Regions from separate parts of the Homo sapiens genome. Here region 1 is linked to region 2. Evidence: promoter capture Hi-C in human tissues and cell types (Jung and others, 2019). All regions are on one chromosome and are shown on one strand. The core of a region is centred on a gene start or on the middle of the fragment in contact, and the rest is flanking DNA. Distances in the headings are between cores, read along the strand shown.

Region 1 (5,074 bases), core at 1,967-4,466, 260 kb before region 2:
GATTGCACCACTGCACTCCAGCCTGGGCGACAGAGCGAGACTCCATCTCAAAAAAAAAAAATTAAATAAAAATAAATAAAAAAGAAAAAAAAAGTAGCCAGGTGTGGTGATGGGCATCTGTAGTCCCAGCTACTCAGGAGGCTGAGGCAGGAGAATCGCTTGAACCCAGGAGGCGGAGGTTGCAGTGAGCCAAGATCGCACCACTGTACTCCAGCCTGGGCAGCAGAGCGAGACTCCGTCTCAAAAAAAATAAAAATAAAATAAAAAATAAAAATCCAACTTTACTGAAGATAATTTACACACAAAACAACTGCATCAGTGTTAAATTTTAACATAGTTAATTCTTGCCAATTCAATAAACAGCGGAATAGGATAAGTGACTCCAAACTGAAAATAGGAACACCATTTCCTTGATTCTGAAATGAATTTATTAAAGGGTTCTCAAGATTAGGGTATTTTCTTCATTTTAAAAAATGGAGTGTTTTAAATTATTAGGAGTGGTATGAACTTGTGCTTACAATAAGGAGGCATACTAAATTCAGACGCGAAGACTGGACCAGAAAAAATCAGGGACAAAACTTTTTGCAAAGTCTTTTCTCTCCAAAGAGAAAACCCTGGGACATGGCTCCAAAAGCATCGCAGGCTGATGTCTGTTGCACACTTAGCTTTGAAGAAGCTTTACTTTTTAATTATTAATTTTTAAAAAGTTCCACTTAAAAAAAAATTTTTTGAGATCAAGTTTCACTCTTGTTGCCCAGGCTGCAGTGCAATGGTGTGATCTTGGCTCACTGCAAACTCCGCCTACCAGGTTCAAGCGATTCTCCTGCCTTAGCCTCCCACATAGCTGGGATTACAGGCTTCGAAGCCACTTTTAGAGATAAGCAGATATGGCATCTAAATATTTCACTACTGTAATAAGTTAAAAAATAACGCAGATGGAGTCAAAAGTAAATAAAATACACCACTCAGCTTTGGAGACAGCAGCTAGAAATGTCCAGCACCAGCAGAACCGTGCAATGCCAGGATGGTGTCTACCCCACAGGTTCCAGGTCAGCCAAGAAGAGCATGGGACACCCAGGGGACCTGCCTGACAGGGGCTGCAAACTCTCACTGGCTACAGCTAGAGAGACATGGAGGGCGAACCTCAGGGTCACGGGCACGAGAGGGGCATCAGGGAACCAAGGGAAGAGGGTGGTTGGAGAGCAGAGGAACCGGGTGGCGAGGGGGACCCCTCAAGAGAAGCCGCCCACCCCGGCCTGAGGCCCACCCTAGAAGCATAGCCAACGAAGCCCAGGCTCCAGCTCCCTTATCCAGCTGAGACCCCTCTCGGCTGTTGCCCCTGGCCATCTTGGCCCACCTGGCAGCTCCCGGTCAAGCCCAGGAGCCTTTATTATTTATCTGACTTTCCTGATTTTCTGGCTCCCATGGGACTGAATCTGGGGATACTTCCTGCCTGAACTCCCCACAAAGCCCCAAACACAACCACTGGCCTAAATCATGGTCCTAGCCACCTGACCTGCTGGTGAATGTGGGGAGGGGACAGGCCACCAAACACCTCAAGGTCTCAGCTGCCCTTCAGCATGGTCACCACTCACTAGTGTAAGAGTGATCTGGGACTCCCGGGAAATTCAGATGCTTGGACCCCAGCCCATACCAGCGTCAGCATCTCTGGGAAACTGCATTTAGACAAGCTCCCAGGTGAGTCTGTGGCAGGGGACCCGGCCAACACTGTAGCACAGGGGAGGAGATCCCGAGAGCCCTGCCATGAGAGGCGGGTACCTCTGGGGGGCCGGGTGAACTGGAAGACGTGTACTCGGGTGCCAGTGCTTCCTGCATCAAACATGATCCCGTAGAAGACCTCGTGCCCGTCTGCAGCTGTCCCCAGGGGGCTGTGGGCCTGCTGACCCCACCGGGCCCCCGGGGCTGCCCTGGTGATGCTGAAGAAGGCCTGGGTGGCGGTGGCCCGGTGCCACTTGATGTAGGCAACATAGATGAACACGCCCACACACAGCCCCAGGGGGTATGCCACCTTCGCCACCCGCAGGCTCCCGTGGTTGGATATTTTTCTCATCCTTGTTTGCCAAGGACCGTGCTGCGGCTGCTGGTGGGAAGGGGGGAGAGGCAGGAAAAGCACGTTAGGGTGCTAGGATCCAAGGAGAGTCAGACGTCCCCAGGCCCAGGGACAAAATGTTCAACCTGAAACTGCTCCGTGTTCCCCCCAGGAATCAGAAGCTTCATTTGAGCCTCATAATTATTCCAGAAGGTGTGATCCCCATCCTACAGAAGAGGAACTGAGGTTTATAAAGGCAGGACAGCCTGCTCAAGGTCGCACACATTGCAGCTGCTGACCTGGTGCACAGACCACAGTGGCTGGCTCCTCTAAGGGAGGGTCCCACCAGCTTGGGACACATGGCGATTTATGTAAAAGAAGCCACATGTAAATGGTGTTCCCAAACTGTTCATGGGAACAGAAGCGCGTATCTGATTCAGTCTTTCAATCCTCAGTTATACTTCTATTCAGGCAATTTACTTTTCGAAAGGTTTAAACTCCGTCCCTTGGGCAACTACTGAGAGCCCCAGACAAACCTGAAAAATGTAGCTCGTTTTTCTGGAAGTTTCATAACGGATACCTTTTTTCATTCACATAGCCCATTCCTGCCAAGGAGAAAATAATGTCTGTGTACTTCCAAAGCCTACAAAAATTCTACTAGAGTAGCAAAATAAATTCACTGGGTGCCATTGTTTTTGGTTCGATATACCCAAAATGAAAGCATTTGTTCAAGTTTCATTGGCTGCTCCAGTGCGAGGCAGCATGTGGGAACCTGAGGCTTCAAAGGACAAGAAGTGTGGGCCGACTCTAGGGCCCCCAACCTTGGGGAACGTCCATCAGCCTGTCCCTCCCTCACTCTCTCAGTCGGTCCTGGTGAGTGGCCACTCCTAGGGGAGCAGGGATCAGGAGGATGCCGGGCTGGAAGTGGCACCGGCTCTGCCCGCAGCTACGTGTGACAGTGGGCAACATGCCCCTCAAGGGGGCCAGTTTCATCTGCAAGGTGGGGCTGCTCATTGGAGAGCCCCTCGTGACTGTGGGGATTCAATGTGCTCAGAACAGGCTGCAGGGAAAGCACGTGCCACATGCGGGCTTTACAGAAGGGCAGCAGGAGGTGACATCTCTGTGGAACCAAGGACAGCATGGCTGCACTGCTGAGGAGGGGGCAGTAGCAGTCAAAGGAGCAAGCCCGCAGCGACCTGCGCTACCTGAGGCTGTTTGGGCACAGCAGAACGGAAGGACAGGGCCCGCGGGGCAAAGCACGGGGAGCAGGCCATTCCTGGCCCCTCCTTCCTGAGGTCCCGCCTGTGGCCACAGCTGGATATCCTCAGGCCCAGAGAGGTAAGACAAGCACTGCCACAGTGCCCCGTGCCGAGGGGAGAGGCCTCACCAGTGGCCTGGCCACCCACACTGGAGCAGGAGACAGGAAAAACCACCCTTCCCTGAGCATCTGCCACGGGCAGGGCTGCAAAAAGCCTCTCCTGGCAGGTGCCAACGTGCAGCCCCTCCCCAGCCCTATTCTGGGCCTGGGTCCCACCACACTCGGGGGCTTCCCACAGCTCTCAGGATCATGTTGCAGCCTCTGCCTGGGCCTGTCCCTGCCGGCCCCTGTCCCTGCTGGCCCCTGTGGCTTCATCGCACTCCTCTTTCGTCCTTGCCCACAGTGCTCTGAGAACAGTGCCTTCTTCTGCCCCTAGAACTCAGCCTCTCCCTGCCTCAGGCCCCTGGCACAGACTGATACGCATTCCCAGAATACTTGTCCCACCACACTGGCACCGTGTCTTCATTCTGAAACCTCCACTGAAATGTCACTGCCACCCCCTTCCCGGATGCCCCCAACCTGCACATGCCCCATCACGCACTCTCTGAGCTCCCTTTACCCACCACCAGCAGTGATGAAACCAGTATTCATAGACCTGATTCCTGTAGGTCTGTGTCTCCCCACTAGGCCATGAGCCCCCAGGGCAGGGACTCAGCTTGTCTTGTGCTGCTGCTGCCCAGCATGGCATCCAAGCCCTTCTCTAGAATGGAAGAGGCTGCTCCTCTACCCCCGCACCTTCTATAACGTCACCAGACACACAACAGAGTCCTGTAGAAAATCCATAAACAGGGAGAGGACACAGCAAGACGGCAAAAGAGGAAGCTCAAAGGCCCTTGTTCCCCCACAGAGAAACACTAAAAACAACTAGAGACTGGTTAAAATATTGCATAGGAGCTCTGCAAAACAGGCAACGATCTACAGCAACCAAGAGAATGCCCAGCCCAGAAGCAGCCACATTCAGGATGTCAGGAACTCTGAGGTGTTTCACTCACCCCTGCCCCAGGCCTCCCCAGCATGGCACCACCTGATGAATGCGGCAGCCCGGTTCCCAATTCCTTCCCTTGAACTGGAGGGAGCAGAGCGGACCTTTCTGCAACATCCTAATCTGTCTTGGGCTGCCTGAGGAACAGATCTCTGTTTCACCTGACTCTGAGCTCAGAGCCCAGATAGGAAGTCAGGGAAATGGTTATGGGCACTGCTAGGCAAAGCTGTAGGATGACTATAGCCCCACGCATACCTGGGGCAAGAATGACAGGTGAGAAATACAGTAGAACATCTGAGGCCCAAGGAGGGACTGGGGGAGACTTTGAGAAAGTAAGATATATATATATATATATAAAGCTTTGTAAAAGTTTAATGGAGCCAACAAGGCAAATAAATTGTGTTCCGGCAGACATTAAGACCTGCTTTCTCTTACCAAAAAATAAGGGCACACATTTTTATCAAAATTCGATAATTCAGAGTTAAGGGTACTGAGATTAAGCTTCAAAGCACCAACTTAAACCAAACAGCAATGAAAAATTGGTTATTCAACTTGGAAAGAGGAACTAAAACCAAGGCATAAAGGGGAGATTAAATATGTGTTCCTTGATCTCAAAGTCCTTTTAGGAGCAGGAGTTCTGGCCACATGTGAGCAACACATCACACCACCAAACCCCAATTCCAGAATCTAAATTTACAATGATAGAAAAACAAAGGTTACTCCA
Region 2 (5,037 bases), core at 1,458-3,957:
CCTTGCAGAGGGAAGCTGAAATGGCTCCCTGACCCCAGGGCCCCTGTCCAGGCAGATGGGCCGTTGCAGCTAGAGTGGAGGGGGCAGAGGATGACATGGCACCTGGCAGAGCTTCCCAGAAGAGATGCCCATCAGATTGAGAAAGAAACAGCCCTTTTCAAAAGGGTGGCGGAAGCCAGTGTGGCAATTTCCTAGGTTCTGAAAGCCTCAGGGAGGAGAGGTGCCCTGAGGGGCTCAGCGCTATGGTCTGTGCAGTTCAGTGCATGGGTGTGGAGAGAGGCCAGATGCTCAGACGGCACCACCCTTGGGGTCCCTGTTGCTTCCCCGCCCCCTACCCCCCTCAGTCATGAGGAAGGCTCTGTAATTTATTCTCAGAGGAGGCAGCGGAGGGGCTGTAGGAGTTGTGGAGTGGGGGCAGGACGCATGCTTGTGTCTGGGGCCCAGGTTCCCATCTCTTTTTTGCTGCTAGACTGGGGGCCTCCCAGCACCCTCCCTATACAGCCGAAGACTGAAGGCCCTTGCTGGAAGCACCAGAAATGATCACAGCGCCTGGGCAGGGTGCTGGGGGCTGTCACCAGCACAGTGGCAGAAGGGCCTGCACTAGACAGAGCAGGGGGCTGAGGCTGGCGGAGAGCACCCCATGCCCCATGTGCCTCCATGCCTGTGCCTTCCCCGAGCCACCTCTGTTCAGCCTCCCCAGGGCCGGAGACGGGGTGCAGTTATCTTCCCATTTCATGGATGGTAGGACTGAGGCTGAGGGCCCGCTCTGTGTGTGTGAACGTGGGCTCTGGAGCTTCTCTCTGGGGTTTGGTGGCTGACAGCAGGTCTGCTGAGAATGGAGGGAAAGGCTTGGTGCAGCATTACATACCAGCGAGGGGCCGGGAACACCACCCAGGAAAATGACGTTGCCAGCTGCCCAGCACATCGGCTCCCACGCCACCCTGTTATAGTCCCTAGCCTGCTCCGTGAGATGAGCAGAGCTCTGAAACCCCTCAGCAGTCAGTAGGTTTAATTAGATCCCAGGACACGCTAGGACAGCTGGCTCCATGTCCCCTCCAGGAGAGCCTTTTCTGAGGTGTGAGAACGAGCCACTTCTCTGGAGTGAACTTGCCTCTCTTCCCTGCTTCCCCCTTGGACCTTGGAGACACGAAGGGGCAGGGCACAGAATGGCAGCAGGCAGGCAGCACTGCATCAGGACAGGGCCAGGAGGAGAGGCCCCTGTGAGGCTGGGAAGCAGGTGGAGGGCTCCTTGCGTGAGCTAAGAAGGCTCCCAAGCTGGGAGGCAGGGCCGGGTATGCTGTCCCCAGCCTTCTGCCAGCCATGGGTCAGCTCCATGTTCGCTGAGCACTACCCAGAGCTGGTGGCGGTGGCATGTTCCCATCAGTGAGAGCAGAAGCTGCCCCCGGCCCCTCCTCCAGCCTGCCGTGTCCCCTTGGCTGCTCAGTCGCAGCGTCCGCCCTAGGCCAGGCCTGGGAGCTCGACACAGTGTCCCCCAGCATCACTGAGTCCTCAGTATCCTGACTCACCAGGAGGAGGTGAGAACCCTCCAAGAACCCCTTGGGTGCTCTGGAGCCATCCTCTTGTCAGTGGTCCTGCTGCACAGCCCCCACCTGGGCCCCTTTGGCCAGGCTCCAGCCCCCTTCTGTCCCTGTCTGCTGGGTGGGGGTCATATGACTTGAGCGGGTCACCTCAGCCCTCTGGTGCCAGCTTCCTGGTTGGTTAAATGAGGTGGGGGCCTCCCAAGTCCCCATCAGTATCCTGGTCTGATTCCTGTGCCAGGGAGGCCATGGCCCAGTTCCCTTTGGGGGAGAGCAGGTTGTCCCTGGCTGTGTGACTTGGGCAAATCACCTAGCCTGGCTGTGTCTCAGTTTCCCAGTGCACAGGCAGTGGCTCTTTCCTCCCTGTCCCCCCTCCCCCTGAGTGCTGACCCTCAGGGAGTGGATTTCAGGAAGGGTGAAAGAGTCTGATCGTTAGGGTCCCTGGAGCCAAGTCACAGGACAACAGCCAGCAGGAAGGAATGACAAGCCATCAGATAGAAGCGGCTAACCACAGGCATGTGGCTGCCCTGTCGCCTCCGTCCCGCAGAGGAGCTGCGGGAGACCTGCCTTACTTAGACCTTTCTCAGACCTCTGTGAAGAGCCAGAGAATAGAAGATGCTTCCCTTGCCCCTAGCCTTCTGGGGCAGCCCCCAAACCCTTCATCCCTGTAGCCTGCTACCCCCAAAGGTAGCTGCAGCCAGATGGAGCCCCTTGCCCCTCTCACCACTCCCAGCACCTCTCACCACCGCATGGTCCTGTGGGGGCTCCAAGCTAGGAAAGTGCCCTGGGGAAGACCCAAGGCACCAGTGGCCAATCTCAGGGAGAGACCCCCGGGGAGCGGACAGGGGAGAACGCCACTTACCTGGGGAAGGGCCCCCAGTGGTGCTCAAGACCAGGCAGCAGAAGGCCAGCAGAGTTCCAGCCGCTCGCATGGCTGCCCGGGTAGGGACAGTGCGGGGCAGTTGGGGGTGGCCGTGCAGTGCCTTCTCAGGCAGCATGGGGCAGTTGGAGGCAGTGGTTGGTGCCCGTGCCGAGCCTTCTTGGGTAGATGGCGCAGGGCAGGTGGGGGCAGTGGTCTGTGCCCGTGCCAATCCTTCTCAGGCAGCACGGGCCAGTGCCGGGCAATGGTTTGTGCCTGTGCTGAGCCTTCTTGGGCAGCATGGAACAGTGGGCTGTCCCAGCCCAGGGGCAGGTGCCAGGGCCACAGCATGGAACCCCACCCTGCAAACCACTGTGGGATGGGGCAGGGGCGGGGCTAGGGGGCTGCCTGCGTGGTGCTGGGGAGGGGAGTGTTTTGCTGCTGAATCATTTTGGCCAGAAGCTCTTCACCTTCAGATCTATCAGCCACAAAGCAACCGCTTCCTTTATAAAAGTTTCCGAGCAGCCGTCATTTGCTGGGGGAGGAGGAAGAGACATGAGACCCATGAGCAAATCCTGATGCAATGTTCTACCCCTGAGCCACACACGAAAGAGATGTTGCATGAAAAACATTAGCAGGAATTTTCAAAAGCAAAATCACTTGATTTTCCTTTTTCTTTTAATTACTTAAGTTCTGGGGTACATGTGCAGAACATGCAGGTTTGTTACATAGGTATACACGTGCCATGGTGGTTTGCTGCACCCATCAACCCATCATCTACATTAGGTATTTCTCCAAATGCTATCCCTCCCCTGGCCCCGGATCCCCAGATAGTCCTTGGTGTGTGATGTTCCCCTCCCTGTGTCCATGTGTTCTCATTGTTCAACTCCCACCTATGAATGAGAACATGCGGTGTTTGGTTTTCTGTTCTTGTGTTAGTTTGCTGAGAATGATGGTTTCCAGCTTCATCCATGTCCCTGCAAAGGACATGAACTCATCTTTTTTATGGCTGCATAGTATTCCATGGTGTATATGTGCCACATTTTCTTTATCCAGTCTACCATTGATGGGCATTTGGGTTGGTTCCAAGTCTTTGCTATTGTGACTAGTGCTGCAGTAAACATACGTGTGCATGTGTCTTTATAGTAGAATGATTTTTGAGTATATACCCAGTAATGAAATTGCTGGGTCAAATGGTATTTCTGGTTCTAGATCCTTGAGGAATCACCACACTGTCTTCCACAATGGTTGAACTAATTTACACTCCCACCAACAGTGTAAAAGCGTTCCTATTTCTCCACATCCTCTCCAGCATCTGTTGCTTCCTGACTTTTTAACGATCACCATTCTAACTGGCATGAGATGGTACCTCATTGTGGTTTTGATTTGCATTTCTCTAATGACCAGTGATGATGAGCGTTTTTTCATATGTTTCTTGGCTGCATAAATGTCTTCTTTTTAGTGTCTGTTCATATCCTTCACCCAATTTTTGATGGGGTTGTTTTTTTCTTGTCAATTGTTTAAGTTCCTTGTAGATTCTCGACATTAGCTCTTTGTCAAATGGATATATTGCAAAAATTTTCTCCCATTCTGTAGGTTGCCTGTTCACTCTGATGACAGTTTCTTTTGCTGTGTGGAAGTTCATTAGTTTAATTAGGTCCCATTTATCAATTTTGGCTTTTGTTGCTATTCCTTTTGGTGTTTTAGTCATGAAGTCTTTGCCCATGCCTATGTCCTGAATGGTACTGCCTAGGTTTTCTTCTAGGGTTTTTATGGTTTTAGGTCTTAAGTCCTTAATCCATGTTGAGTTAATTTTTGTATAAGGTGTAAGGAAGGGGTCCAGTTTCAGTTTTCTGCAAATGGCTAGCCAGTTTTCCCAACACCATTTATTAAATAGGGAATCCTTTCCCCATTGGTTGTTTTAGTCAGGTTTGTCAAAGATCAGGTGGTTGTTGATGTGTGGTGTTATTTCTGGGCTTCTGTTCTGTTCCATTGGTCTATATATCTGTTTTGGTACCAGTACCATGCTGTTTTGGTTACTGTAGGCTTGTAGTATGGTTTGAAGTCAGATAGCATGATGCCTCCAGCTTTGTTCTTTTTGCTTAGGATTGTCTTGGCTATGCAGGCTCTTTTTTGGTTCCCTATGAACTTTAAAGTAGTTTTTTCCAATTCTGTGAAGAAAGTCAATGATAGCTTGATGGGGGATATCACTGAATCTATAAATTACTTTGGGCAGTATGGCCATTTTCACAACATTGATTCTTCCTATCCATGAGCATGGAATGTTTTTCCATTTATTTGTATCCTCTCTTATTTCCTTGAACAGTGGTTTGTAGTTCTCCTTGAAGAGGTCCTTCACATCCCTTGTAAGTTGTATTCCTAGGTATTTTATTCTCTTTGTAGCAATTGTGAATGGGAGTTCACTTATAATTTCACTCTCTGTTTGTCTATTATTGGTGTATAGGAATGTTTGTGATTTTTGCACATTGATTTTGTATCCTGAGACTTTGCTGAAGTTGCTTATCAGCTTGTGGAGATTTTGGGCTGAGATGATGGGGTTTTCTAAATATACAGTCATGTCATCTGCAAACAGAGACAATTTGACTCCCTCTTTTCCTATTTGAATACTCTTTATTTCCT

Evidence for each region. The method cuts DNA at HindIII sites, captures the fragments that hold promoters and counts their contacts. A contact is called where the count stands out against the background at its distance.
Region 1: a contact is called between a fragment that was not itself captured here and the fragment with the promoter of CST7 in region 2, in 2 of the 25 tissues and cell types used here (pancreas and thymus).

The regions. Positions count from the first base shown.
Region 1 is chr20:25,204,103-25,209,176 of GRCh38, reverse strand. It overlaps ENTPD6 (ectonucleoside triphosphate diphosphohydrolase 6), which reads right to left. Exons shown (of 15, transcript NM_001247.5): 2 at 2,587-2,655; 3 at 1,780-2,101. The coding sequence starts at 2,640. Among named protein-coding and RNA genes, the nearest start is that of ENTPD6, 11 kb to the right of the region's middle. The HindIII fragment of the contact is 3,524 bases long and covers 1,455-4,978 here.
Region 2 is chr20:24,946,939-24,951,975 of GRCh38, reverse strand. It overlaps CST7 (cystatin F), which reads right to left and starts at 2,707. Exons shown (of 4, transcript NM_003650.4): 1 at 2,401-2,707. The coding sequence starts at 2,470. RefSeq lists an enhancer at 2,992-3,041. The HindIII fragment of the contact is 14,192 bases long and covers 1-5,037 here.